Linked DNA regions of Homo sapiens: region 2 is linked to region 1. The links are contacts of gene promoters, found by promoter capture Hi-C in blood cells and fetal thymus (Javierre and others, 2016). All regions are on one chromosome and are shown on one strand. Each heading gives the region's core, a stretch centred on a gene start or on the middle of the fragment in contact. The rest is flanking DNA. Distances are from core to core; before and after follow the strand shown. Region 1 holds the start of OPN1SW (opsin 1, short wave sensitive). Region 2 has its middle 33 kb from the start of TNPO3.

Region 1 (5,744 bases), core at 2,359-4,858:
TCTCCCTCTGCTGTTGGGGGAACAGGGTGGGAGGGCACTGTCTGGGAAGGCGTGAGGACAGTATTAGGAGGGGCCAAAGATGTGGCCACCTAGCCTTGTACACTGGATGTAAAAGGGCCCGGGGTGTCTTGCACCCTCGCCATTTAGCCTCCCATCAGAAATGTTTGCAGAGGTGGGCACCTCAGCAGAGCCCAGCGGACAGTGGAGGCTGGCTTGTTCCACGCAGGCCAGGCTCACACACAGTCCATGTGCCCTGCTCAGGGATAGGCACCTTAAGGTGACCTCTGGCCCTGGTCCTGAAGTCCTGCCCAGGGCAACGGATGAGCAGCTCTGCTCATCTGTACAAGGCTAGGTGGCCACATCTTTGGCCCCTCCTAATACTGTCCTCACACCTTCCCAGACAGTGCCCTCCCACCCTGTTCCCCCCATGACTCAGGCAATCTGACTGGACCCTTAGCTGGCTCTCCCCAGTAACCTCCACCAGGACTCCCACCTGCGGCCGAGTGTTTGTGTGGGATGTGCATGTGTGCGCATGCACATGAGAGTGGCGGTCTTTCGGAAATAATTAAGTCAGCTGGGCACAGTGGCTCATGCCTGTAATCCCAGCACTTCGGGAGGCCGAGGTGGTCAGATCACCTGAGGTCAGGAGTTTGAGAACAGCCTGGCCAAAATGGTGAAACCCTGTCTCTACTAAAAATGCAAAAATTAGCTGGGCATGGTGGCACAGACCTGTAATCCCAGCTACATGGGAGACTGAGGCAAGAGAATCACTTGAACCCAGGAGATGGAGGTTGCAGTGACCTGAGATTGGCTCAGATCCTACTGAGGAGATGCTGGAGACAGGAGAGAACTATTTTGTTTTGCTTCAGGTTTCATTGATTTTTCTCCATTCTTTATTCATTTTTAATTTCAATGTTTTCTGCTCTGCTTTTTAGTATCTGCCCCTATTTATTTTAGATTTGATTCACCCTTTCAGCTTCTCAAGGTGAAAGTTTAAATTTTAAACATTTATTGTCTAGTATAAATACTTAAAGCTATAAATTTTTCTCTAAGTACTGCTTTAGCTGACTCCTTCAATTTCTAATACTTTTTTGTTGTTATTCAGCTGAAATTCTTTCAGTTTTTCCTTATGATTTCTCTTTTGACTCACAGGATATTTAGATGTATATTGCTTATTCATAAGTGTTTGGGGGATTTTCCAGATATCTTTTTGTTATTGATCTATCTGTAAGTTCACTGATCCTTTCTTCTGCTGTCCAATCTGCTGTTCAGCCATCTAGTAAATTCTTCATTTGACATGTTGTAGTTTTCAGTTCTGGAATTTCCATTTGGCTATTTTATTTTTCCCATTCTTCTGCTGAGATCCATTAACTCACGATGATCATTTTTTTCCTTCCAGTTCTTGAATATATTTATATCGCTGTTTGAAGTTTTTCCTGCTGGTGCCAACTTCTTGGGTCATCTCAGGTTCTGTTTCTATTGCTTGCTTTTTCTTTTGGCTATGACTCATATTTTCCTGTGGGTTTTTTTTTTCTTTCACACGCCTTTTAATTTTTCATTGTATATTAGACATTGTAGATAGTGAACTTTAGAAACTGGGTTATCTTCCATTGAGGGGTGTTGATTTTTGTTCTAATAAGCAATTAACTTACTAGTTGATCACCTTGAACCCGCTGAGGCTTGGTTTTATCTTTTGCTAGTATGAGTCAGCTTTGGCTTTGACCTTACTCTCAGAACAAATATTTAGTCCTGGGATATAGATTTTAGCTCTATGGTGTGGCCTTTTGGGAGTTTCAAGTAGAAAGCCCTAAGTGTTTACCCAGACCCTCTGACTTGGGATTCAAATTCAAACTCTTTCTCTGCTACAGTGGGTAACAGTCAAAATCTGCTTAGCTCTTTCAGACCTCCAGTGGTTGTCTTTTACTGGGCTCTTGGAAATTCCTCCATCCACAGTTCAGCAGTCAGCCTATGATTTGAGGGGAGTTTATATGCAGATTTAAAGACTTTGCCTTCTGTGGCTTCTTTCATTCCAGGAAATCCACCTTCAGCTGTTCTGGAGTCCCAAACTGTCCTCTGTCTCCTGTCCTCTGTCCTCTGACTCTTCAAGCCAAAAAAGGCTGGGGCTTTCTGCTCAAGTTCTAGCTATCCTGTGCCATTTATACTCGGGAGTACACTCAGGGAAAAAAAAAAACAACAATGTAGATGGTTCTTTTCATTGAAGAGTTGAGTTCCTTTCAGTTTCTGCCTGCTTTGGATACTTTAGGTGTTTTCAAAAAGTTGTTTTTCATATTGTGTCCAGTTTACAATTTTTTTGCCTAAGGGGGCATTCATCTAATAAACTATTCTGCCATTACTGGACCATCCTTTCACTTTTAAACTTACTTATACCTAAAGTGTGTCACTTTTAACTCATCTATATATATAGTCTCGCTCTGTCCCACAGGCTGGAGTGCAGTGGCGTGATCTCGGCTCACTGCAGGCTCCGCCTCCCGGGTTCACGCCATTCTCCTGCCTCAGCCTCCCAAGTAGCTGGGACTACAGGCGCCCACCACCACACCCAGCTAATTTTTTGTATTTTTAGTAGAGACGGGGTTTCACCGTTAGCCAGGATGGTCTCGATCTCCTGACCTTGTGATCCACCCATCTCAGCCTCCCAAAGTGCTGGGATTACAGGCTTGAGCCACCACGCCCGGCCAACTCATCTATATATTTATGATCTGCTGAGGTGGAAAAGATTCATTCATAAAGCCTAAAGTGTAGTACTGAGTACAAGTGCAGGTGGAACTTAAAGCAGAGTTGGTGTCACTGGGGTGGGCTGCACAGAAGAGGTGTTTGTGAGGTAGGCTGTGAGGGCTAGATAAGACTTCAATGAACAGACAGGAGGAAGACTGTGGCGACTTGTTGAGCTAAGGGTAGGGGTAGGCATGAACATGGCGTAAGGACAGTGAACAGACCCACCTCCCTGGCTGGAGGTCTGAGTAGGAAAGGCACACTCTTTGAGTAGATTCAACACAAAGAAATGGAGGCAGCCTGGCTCAGGGATGCCCTAGACCTCTAGGCATTGTCAAGTTGCCTAAGTCCTGTTCCATCAAGGCTGTTTACTGATGTGCTTCCAGGGCACTCCCCACTCCCAGCCCTTTCCTGCAGCCCAGGGCTGGTTCCTAGCCTCTCAGCAGACTTAAGATGGGCACCTTCCACAAAGGGGCAGATGAGTTGAGGAAAACTTAACTGATACAGTTGTGCCAGAAGCCAAAATAAGAGGCGTGCCCTTTCTATAGCCCCATTAAAAGAACAAAAAAGTGGAAGCATCTTCAGTGAATATGGGTCAGCACCTCCCAGACCTCAGGGAGTCCACTTCTGTTCATCCCAGCACCCAGCATTGCATATCCAGATTATTTGAGCCCAATCTCTTATCCTCTGAAGAACACAATCGGCTTTGGGGCCACAAAAGGTTTAGGTAGTGGTTTAGGGATTTCTAATCCCAAACTTTGTCCTTGGGAGGTTTAGGATTAGTATTGATCATTCACAGAGCCCAAGTGTTTTTAGAGGAGGGGTTTTGTGGGGTGGGAGGATCACCTATAAGAGGACTCAGAGGGGGGTGTGGGGCATCCATGAGAAAAATGTCGGAGGAAGAGTTTTATCTGTTCAAAAATATCTCTTCAGTGGGGCCGTGGGATGGGCCTCAGTACCACATTGCCCCTGTCTGGGCCTTCTACCTCCAGGCAGCTTTCATGGGCACTGTCTTCCTTATAGGGTTCCCACTCAATGCCATGGTGCTGGTGGCCACACTGCGCTACAAAAAGTTGCGGCAGCCCCTCAACTACATTCTGGTCAACGTGTCCTTCGGAGGCTTCCTCCTCTGCATCTTCTCTGTCTTCCCTGTCTTCGTCGCCAGCTGTAACGGATACTTCGTCTTCGGTCGCCATGTTTGTGCTTTGGAGGGCTTCCTGGGCACTGTAGCAGGTACTGCAGGGGAAAAAGGGGTTAGGGGAAGGCAAAGGTTGCTACTCCACTGGAGGGGGTTCCTAAAGAGGAGTCTGGGGGAAATGAGTCTGGTGCTTTTTAAAATACTGGGGTACAAAGCAACCCAGACTAGAAGTTTGGCTAAAATAGGATGTTTGAGTCTTCACTCCAAATGTCAGTCCAGCCCTGTCTCTCTGTGCTTGCTCCACCCGATCTGTTTGCCACTCTGCCAGCCAGGCTGGGTGGGGCTCTGTCTAGCCCATTATCCTCACATTTCACCACAGGTCTGGTTACAGGATGGTCACTGGCCTTCCTGGCCTTTGAGCGCTACATTGTCATCTGTAAGCCCTTCGGCAACTTCCGCTTCAGCTCCAAGCATGCACTGACGGTGGTCCTGGCTACCTGGACCATTGGTATTGGCGTCTCCATCCCACCCTTCTTTGGCTGGAGCCGGTGAGAGTGCAGGGCAGTGGTGCTGAGTTAACTAGGAGCTCAGGTTGATGTGGGTGGAAAGAGAGCTTGGGTATAACTATTTAGTCTTTGACCTCTACTTTTAAAGAGTTGCAATATGAGGCGAAAGGGCAGTGGGAGACAAGTGCTAACGTTTACTCTGCAGTTGGAATTGCTGTAGCTTCTCCCAGTCAGGACAGAAAACCCCCCTGCTTGAAGCCTTAGGGCATTCCGTGGGTTCTAAGTGGAGAACACAATCCAGGCATCTCAGCTCCCACTGCACTCTTGTGGAGAGTCCAGTGAGCAAGTGTTTGGTCCTTTGCAGGTTCATCCCTGAGGGCCTGCAGTGTTCCTGTGGCCCTGACTGGTACACCGTGGGCACCAAATACCGCAGCGAGTCCTATACGTGGTTCCTCTTCATCTTCTGCTTCATTGTGCCTCTCTCCCTCATCTGCTTCTCCTACACTCAGCTGCTGAGGGCCCTGAAAGCTGTGAGTGGCATTTGATAGTCAGGGAAGAAGGGGTTCGGGGCTCCACATGAGAAGGAAGAGTGCTCTGAAACATAAGATGCCTGGAAATGTCCATAGCCAGAGAGGGTATCTAAAAGCAGCAAAGGAAGTAGGAGGAGGGAGAATGATGGAGATCCAAAGGAACTAGGCCAGGAGATGGGACAGAAAAGAGGCAATCAGAGTGGATGCCCCCTCCCCCATCCCACAGAAAAGCATCCAGAGACCGGGCGCAGTGGCTCACGCCTATAATCCCAGCACTTTGGGAGGCCGAAGCAGACGGATCACCTGAGGTCAATAGTTCCAGACCAGCCTGGCCTACATGGCAAAATGCTAAAATGCGAAAATTAGCTGGGCATGGTGGTGTGTGCTTGTAACCCCAGCTACTCAGGAGGCTGAGACAAAAGAATCACTTGAACCCGGGAGGTGGAGGTTCAGTGAGCCGAGACTGCACCACTGCAACTCCAGCCTGGGCAACAGAGCGAGACTCGGTCTCAAAAAGAAAATTAAAAATTAAAAATTAAAAAAAAAAAAAAAAAGCATCCAGAGGGCCAGGAAAAAGAGAGATGTGATGCTTTCCGTGCTCCACCCCAGGTTGCAGCTCAGCAGCAGGAGTCAGCTACGACCCAGAAGGCTGAACGGGAGGTGAGCCGCATGGTGGTTGTGATGGTAGGATCCTTCTGTGTCTGCTACGTGCCCTACGCGGCCTTCGCCATGTACATGGTCAACAACCGTAACCATGGGCTGGACTTACGGCTTGTCACCATTCCTTCATTCTTCTCCAAGAGTGCTTGCATCTACAATCCCATCATCTACTGCTTCATG
Region 2 (5,744 bases), core at 1,136-3,635, 310 kb before region 1:
GCATGGGGTTGGGAAATTTGAGGGTGTTTTTTTTTCTTCCTGTGGTCTCATGGAGAATAAAATGTGCATTGCCTCTGCAAAGAGCTTGAAGACCAGGGCCAGGAATCAAAGTCCTTCTGGACCAGGGTCACGGGGGCTTTCAAAAGTGGAATGCTGGCCGGGCACGGTGGCTCACATCCGTAATCTCAGCACTTTGGGAGGTCGAGGCAGGCCGATTACTTGAGGTCAGGAGTTCAAGACCAGCCTGGCCAACATGGGGAAACCCTGTCTCTACTAAAAATACAAAAATTGGCCAGGCGTGGTGGTGGGTGCCCGTAATCCCAGTTACTCGGGAGGCTGAGGCAGGAGAATCGCTTGAACCTGGGAGGTGGAGGTTGCAGTGAGCAAAGATCCCACCACTGCACTCCAGCCTGGGCGACAGAGCGAGACTCCTTCTCAAAAAAAAGAAAAGAAAAGAAAAGAAAAGAAAAAAGAAATAAAGTAGAATATTGACACAATAGGCTTTTTAAAAAAACAAAATTTTCCCCACTGTTGAATGGTTTTCTCCTTCACTTTTCCTTTCCCAATGCTGCAGCCCACTTCTCTTCAACAACCTCACCTGAATCACACACATCAGAGCCAGAAGGGACCTAAAAGACCATTTGCTCCTGTGCTGCTCAAATTGTGCCCAATTGTCACTAGCACCAGAATCAGCTGTGCTTGTTAAAATGCAGATTCCAGGACCCTGACTCAGACGCCACTGGGTGGGTCAGAAACCTACATTTTAAATGGGCACGCACCCTCCTCCAGTATATACATGTGGTTATCCATGCGCACTAAATTTTGAGAAGTTCTTTAGTTCAGCTCTTTCCATTTACAAGGGAGGAACAAATCTCAGAGGTCAAGTGTCATGCCCAAGGTTATCCGGCAGAGTGGCAGCATCACTAGGACTGAAATCAAGACCCTGTACCCTGACCTCACATCAGGGTAAGTTTTTACTCCACGTTTCTGAGAGCCCTAGAGTTTTGAAGAGGTGCTTCAGAGGTTCTGCAAATATTTAATTGCAAAGTGACCTGTTTAAAAGAAAACAGAAATTTGGCATTTGCAACTTCTTATTATGTGAATCAGGATTTTAAAAAACCTTGTGGTTGCAAGGATCAGCCATCATGTTCATTTAATGTTATTGAGATCACTGCAAAAGTCCTACCTTTATTACTGGCTGACTTAGATAAAATAAACGGTTGAAATGCCACTTTTATTTATCTATTGGAATTCTTTTTAAAGTTTCATACGACAAAGCAATTCTACTGCTCTATATAAAATGTATTGGGCAATCACTAACTCTGCGAGCACAGTGTTAAGCACTGTGGAAATAAACAAAAACCACCCAAGTGAGAAGAAACAGAAGCTGTTTATTCAGCGCTTGCTTTAGCCAGGGTCTCAGCCACCATCACTCGCATTTGTCAGAGACTCAGGCAGGCAGGGCTGTGCAAAGCTTTATAGTGAAAAAAAGGGAAGTCTTCAGCTATGCCTTGATTGGAGCTTGTTGGCATGGGAAAGCTAGAGGTAGGCTGACTAGAAATTGAGCATCCAGTGTGATTGGATTGGGGACCATATTTGGCTTTCTGTGCTTGGTCCTGAGTTGGAAGTGGGGGCAGAAGTTAGGGCAGCTGCACTTACTGACTTGGTCAAGTTCTGACTGTTCTGGGATGATTGCTGCAGAGGCTGTGGTTTGGCTTCCTGGATGGGTTGCTGCAGAGGTTGTGGCCCAGAGTTCTATTGTCATATATGATCTGGCCATTGTCTGTTTGTATTTTCATTCTCTCAGCCTTATCTGCATTACTTCATCTAAGCCCTTTCACAACCCCATGAGATTGATAATATTATTATTTCAGCTTTGTGAATGAGAAATGGAATTGCAGAGAAGTTAGGTAACTTGGCCAAAGTCAGACAGTTATGAAGAGGTAAAGATAAAACTTGAACCTAGGCAGACTGACCTCAGAGCCCTGGGTTTCTGTCTCAGCTTTACAGGGAAAAAAAAATTATAGAAACTGACAAACTGTCTAAAAATTCCCATGAAAATGCAAAGGATCTAGATTAGCCAAAACATCTTTGAAAGAGAATAACAAAGTTGGAGGGCTAACACCACCTGATTTCAAGGCTTCATAAAAAATAATAGTCATCAAGATGAGGTGCTATTAACATCATGATAGACAGCTCAAATAGAACAGATCAAATGGAACAGAATAGAAAGTTCAGACACACATACACACACATATACAATTGATTTTTAAAAAGACCCAAAGGCAATGAGAAAGGATAATTTCTAATGAATAGTTTCAGTGAGTTGGGCTAGAACAGTTGGATAGCTATATGCAAAAAAAGAAAAAAAGAACTTCAATTCATACCTTATACCACGTATAAAAATTAAGTCAAAATCGATTATGCACCTAAGTGTAAAATCTAAAACTATAAAACTTCTAGAAAACATAGAAGTAAAATCTTTGTGACCTTTAATTAGATAATATGTCTTAGATATTACACTAAAAGCACAGTCAATAGGAAATAAATTTGATAAATTGGACTTCATCAAAATTAAAAACTTCTTTTCCTGAAAAGATGCCATGAGAAGAATGAAAAGACCAGCCACTGACTGGGAGAAAATATTTGCAAAGCCCATATCTGATAAAGGATGTGTATCCAGAATATATAAAGAACTTTGGAAATCAAATAAGAGCAAAGAATTCAACTTTTTTTCAAAAAGTAGGCAACAGATCTAAACAGTTATTTCACCAAAAAAATGGATGGCAAATAAGCACATGAAAAGATGTTCAACATTATTCACATTAAGGAAATATAAATTAAAATCACAATCAGAAACTACTGCATACCTATTAGATGTCTGATTAAAACCATGTGTTAATAAGAGTGCAGAGGAACTAGAACTCTCATACACTGTTGGTGGGAATGTAAAATGATAAAACCACTTTGGAAAACAGCTGATCAGTTTCTTAAAAAGTTAAACATACTTACCATATGATCTAGCCTTTCCACCTCTGTGTATTCACCCAAAAAAAGCACATATTCATACAAAGACTTGCACACAAATGTTCATAGTAGCTTTATTGTTTTCTTCCTCAACTTTATTGAGGCATAATTGACAAATAAAAATCATAGCAGCTCTTTTTTTAAGAGATAGGGTCTTGCTATGTTGCCCAGGCTGGACTCGAACTCCAGGGCTCTAGTGATCCTCCTGTCTCAGCCTCTCAGGTAACTGGGATTACAGGCAGGTGCCAGCACACCTGGCTTGAAGCTTTATTTTTTAATTTAATTTAATTTAATTTAATTTAATTTAATTTAATTTTTTGAGACGGAGTCTCACTCTGTCGCCTAGGCTGGAGTGCAGTGGCATTATTTTGGCTCACTGCAAGCTCCACCTCCTGGGTTCACGCCATTCTCCTGCCTCAGCCTCCCAAGTAGCTGGGACTACAGGTGCCGGCCACCATGCCCGGCTAATTTTTTGTATTTTTTAGTAGAGATGGGGTTTCACCGTGTTAGCCAGGATGGTCTTGATCTCCTGACCTTGTGATCTGCCTGCCCCGGCCTCCCAAAGTGCTGGGATTATAGGCGTGAGCCACCGCACCTGGCCTGAATTTTATTTTTTATTTTTATTATTATTTTTTATTTTTATTTTTATTTTTTGAGACGGAGTCTCGCTCTGTCGCCCAGGCTGGAGTGCAGTGGCGGGATCTCGGCTCACTGCAAGCTCCGCCTCCCGGGTTCACGCCATTCTCCTGCCTCAGCCTCCCAAGTAGCTGGGACTACAGGCGCCCGCCACTACGCCCGGCTAATTTTTTGTATTTTTAGTAGAGACGGGGTTTCACCGTTTTAGCCGGGATGGTCTCGATCTCCTGACCTTGTGATCCGCCCGCCTCGGCCTCCCAAAGTGCTGGGATTACAGGCGTGAGCCACCGCGCCCGGCCGAATTTTATTTTTTTTAGAGATAGTGTCTCGCTCTGTTGCTCAGGTTGGAGTACAGTGGCATGATCGTAGCTCACTGCAGCCTCAAAATCCTGGGCTTAAGTGATCTTCCCACCTCAGCCTCCTGTGTAGCTGGGATTACAGGTGCAAGCCACCATGCTGGGCTAATTTTTAAATTTTTTGTAGAGATGGGGTCTTGCTATATTGCCCAGGCTGGTCTCGAATTTCTGGCCTCAAGCCATCTTCCCATCTTGGCCTCCCAAAGTGCTGGGATTACAGGTGTGAGTACTTCACTGGTCTGCAGCTTTATTTTTAGTAGCCAAAAATAGGAGCCAATCCAATGACTCAATAAATGAATGGCTAGACAAACTGAAGTATATTCATATAATGGAATGACCTCAGTAAGTGAACATTTTTTCAGTAACAGCTTTATTGAGATATAATTCACATAGGTAAAAATTAGCCATTTTAAATATGTAATTTTGTAGTTTTTAGTATATGTACGGGTTGTGCAAACACCATCACAATCAATTTGAGAATATTTGTATTACCCCACAAAGAAATTCTGTACCCTTTAGCAGTCACCTTCATTGCCCCCAGCCACCCTCACTCTGACCTGGGCAACCACTAATCTACTTTCTGTCTCTATTTGCCAATTCTGGACATTTCACATAAAAATGGAATCAGGCTGGGCATGGTGGCTCACACCTATAATCCCAGCACTTTGGGAGGCCAAAGTGGGCGGATCACTTGAGGCCAGGAGTTCAAGCCCAGCCTGGCCAACATGGCGAAACCCCATCTCCACTAAAAATACAAAAATTAGCTGGGTGTGGTGGCGCATGCCTGTGATCCCAACTCCTTGGGAGGCTGAGGCAGAAAAATTGCTTGAACCCGGGAGGTGGAGGTTGCAGTGAGCTGAGATTGTGCCACTGCACTCCAACCTGGGTGACAGTGACACCCTGTCTGAAAAAATAAAAAATAAAAATAAAAATAAATAAAAATGGAATCATACAATATGTGGGGTTGGTATGTGTGTGTTTGGCTTCTTTCACTTAGCTGAATGTTTTCAAGGTTAATCTGTGTTGTGGCGCGTATCAGTGCTTCATTCCCTTTTATGGCTGAATAATATTTCACTGTATGGATAGACCACATTTTGTTTATCCATTCCTCAGTTGGTGGACATTGGAGTTCTTTTCACATGTTGACTATTATAAATAATGCTGCCATTGGCCAGCTGCCGTGCCTCACATCTGTAATCCCAGCACTCTGGGAGGCCAAGGCAGGCAGATCATTTGAGGTCAGAAGTTTGAGACCAGCCTGGCCAACATGGTAAAACCCTGTCTCTACTAAACAAAATACAAAAATTAGCTGGGTGTGGTGGTGGGCACCTGTAATCCTAGCTACTCTGGAGGCTGAGGCAGGAGAATCACTTGAACCCAGGAGGCAGAGGTTGCAGTGAGCCGAGATCGCGCCACTGCATTCCAGCCTGGGTGACAGAGCGAGACTCCGTCTCAAAAAATAATAATAATAGGCTGGGCGCAGTGGCTTACGCCTGTAATCCCAGCACTTTGGGAGGCCGAGGTGGGCGGATCACGAGGTCAGGAGATGGAGACCATCCTGGCCAACATGGTGAAACCCCATCTATACTAAAAATACAAAAAATTAGCCAGGCGTGGTGGCGCATGCCTATAATCCCAGCTACTTGGGAGGCTAAGGCAGGGGAATCACTTGAACCCAGGAGGCGGAGGCTGCAGTGAGCCAAGATCACGCCACTGAACTCCAGC

Evidence for each region. Contacts are between HindIII fragments. The CHiCAGO score rates a contact against its expected background, and 5 or more counts as called.
Region 2: a contact is called between a fragment that was not itself captured here and the fragment with the promoter of OPN1SW in region 1, in 1 of 17 cell types (M2 macrophages). The highest score is 5.4, in M2 macrophages.

The regions. Positions count from the first base shown.
Region 1 is chr7:128,773,658-128,779,401 of GRCh38, reverse strand. It overlaps OPN1SW (opsin 1, short wave sensitive), which reads left to right and starts at 3,608. Exons shown (of 5, transcript NM_001385125.1): 1 at 3,608-3,963; 2 at 4,248-4,416; 3 at 4,739-4,904; 4 at 5,514-5,744. The coding sequence starts at 3,621. RefSeq lists cis regulatory regions at 3,142-3,611, 2,512-3,611, 1-3,611, 1-3,611, 2,620-3,614 and 1 more. The HindIII fragment of the contact is 6,893 bases long and covers 1-5,744 here.
Region 2 is chr7:129,085,720-129,091,463 of GRCh38, reverse strand. No RefSeq gene overlaps it. Among named protein-coding and RNA genes, the nearest start is that of TNPO3, 33 kb to the right of the region's middle. RefSeq lists an enhancer at 1,457-1,606. The HindIII fragment of the contact is 1,818 bases long and covers 1,477-3,294 here.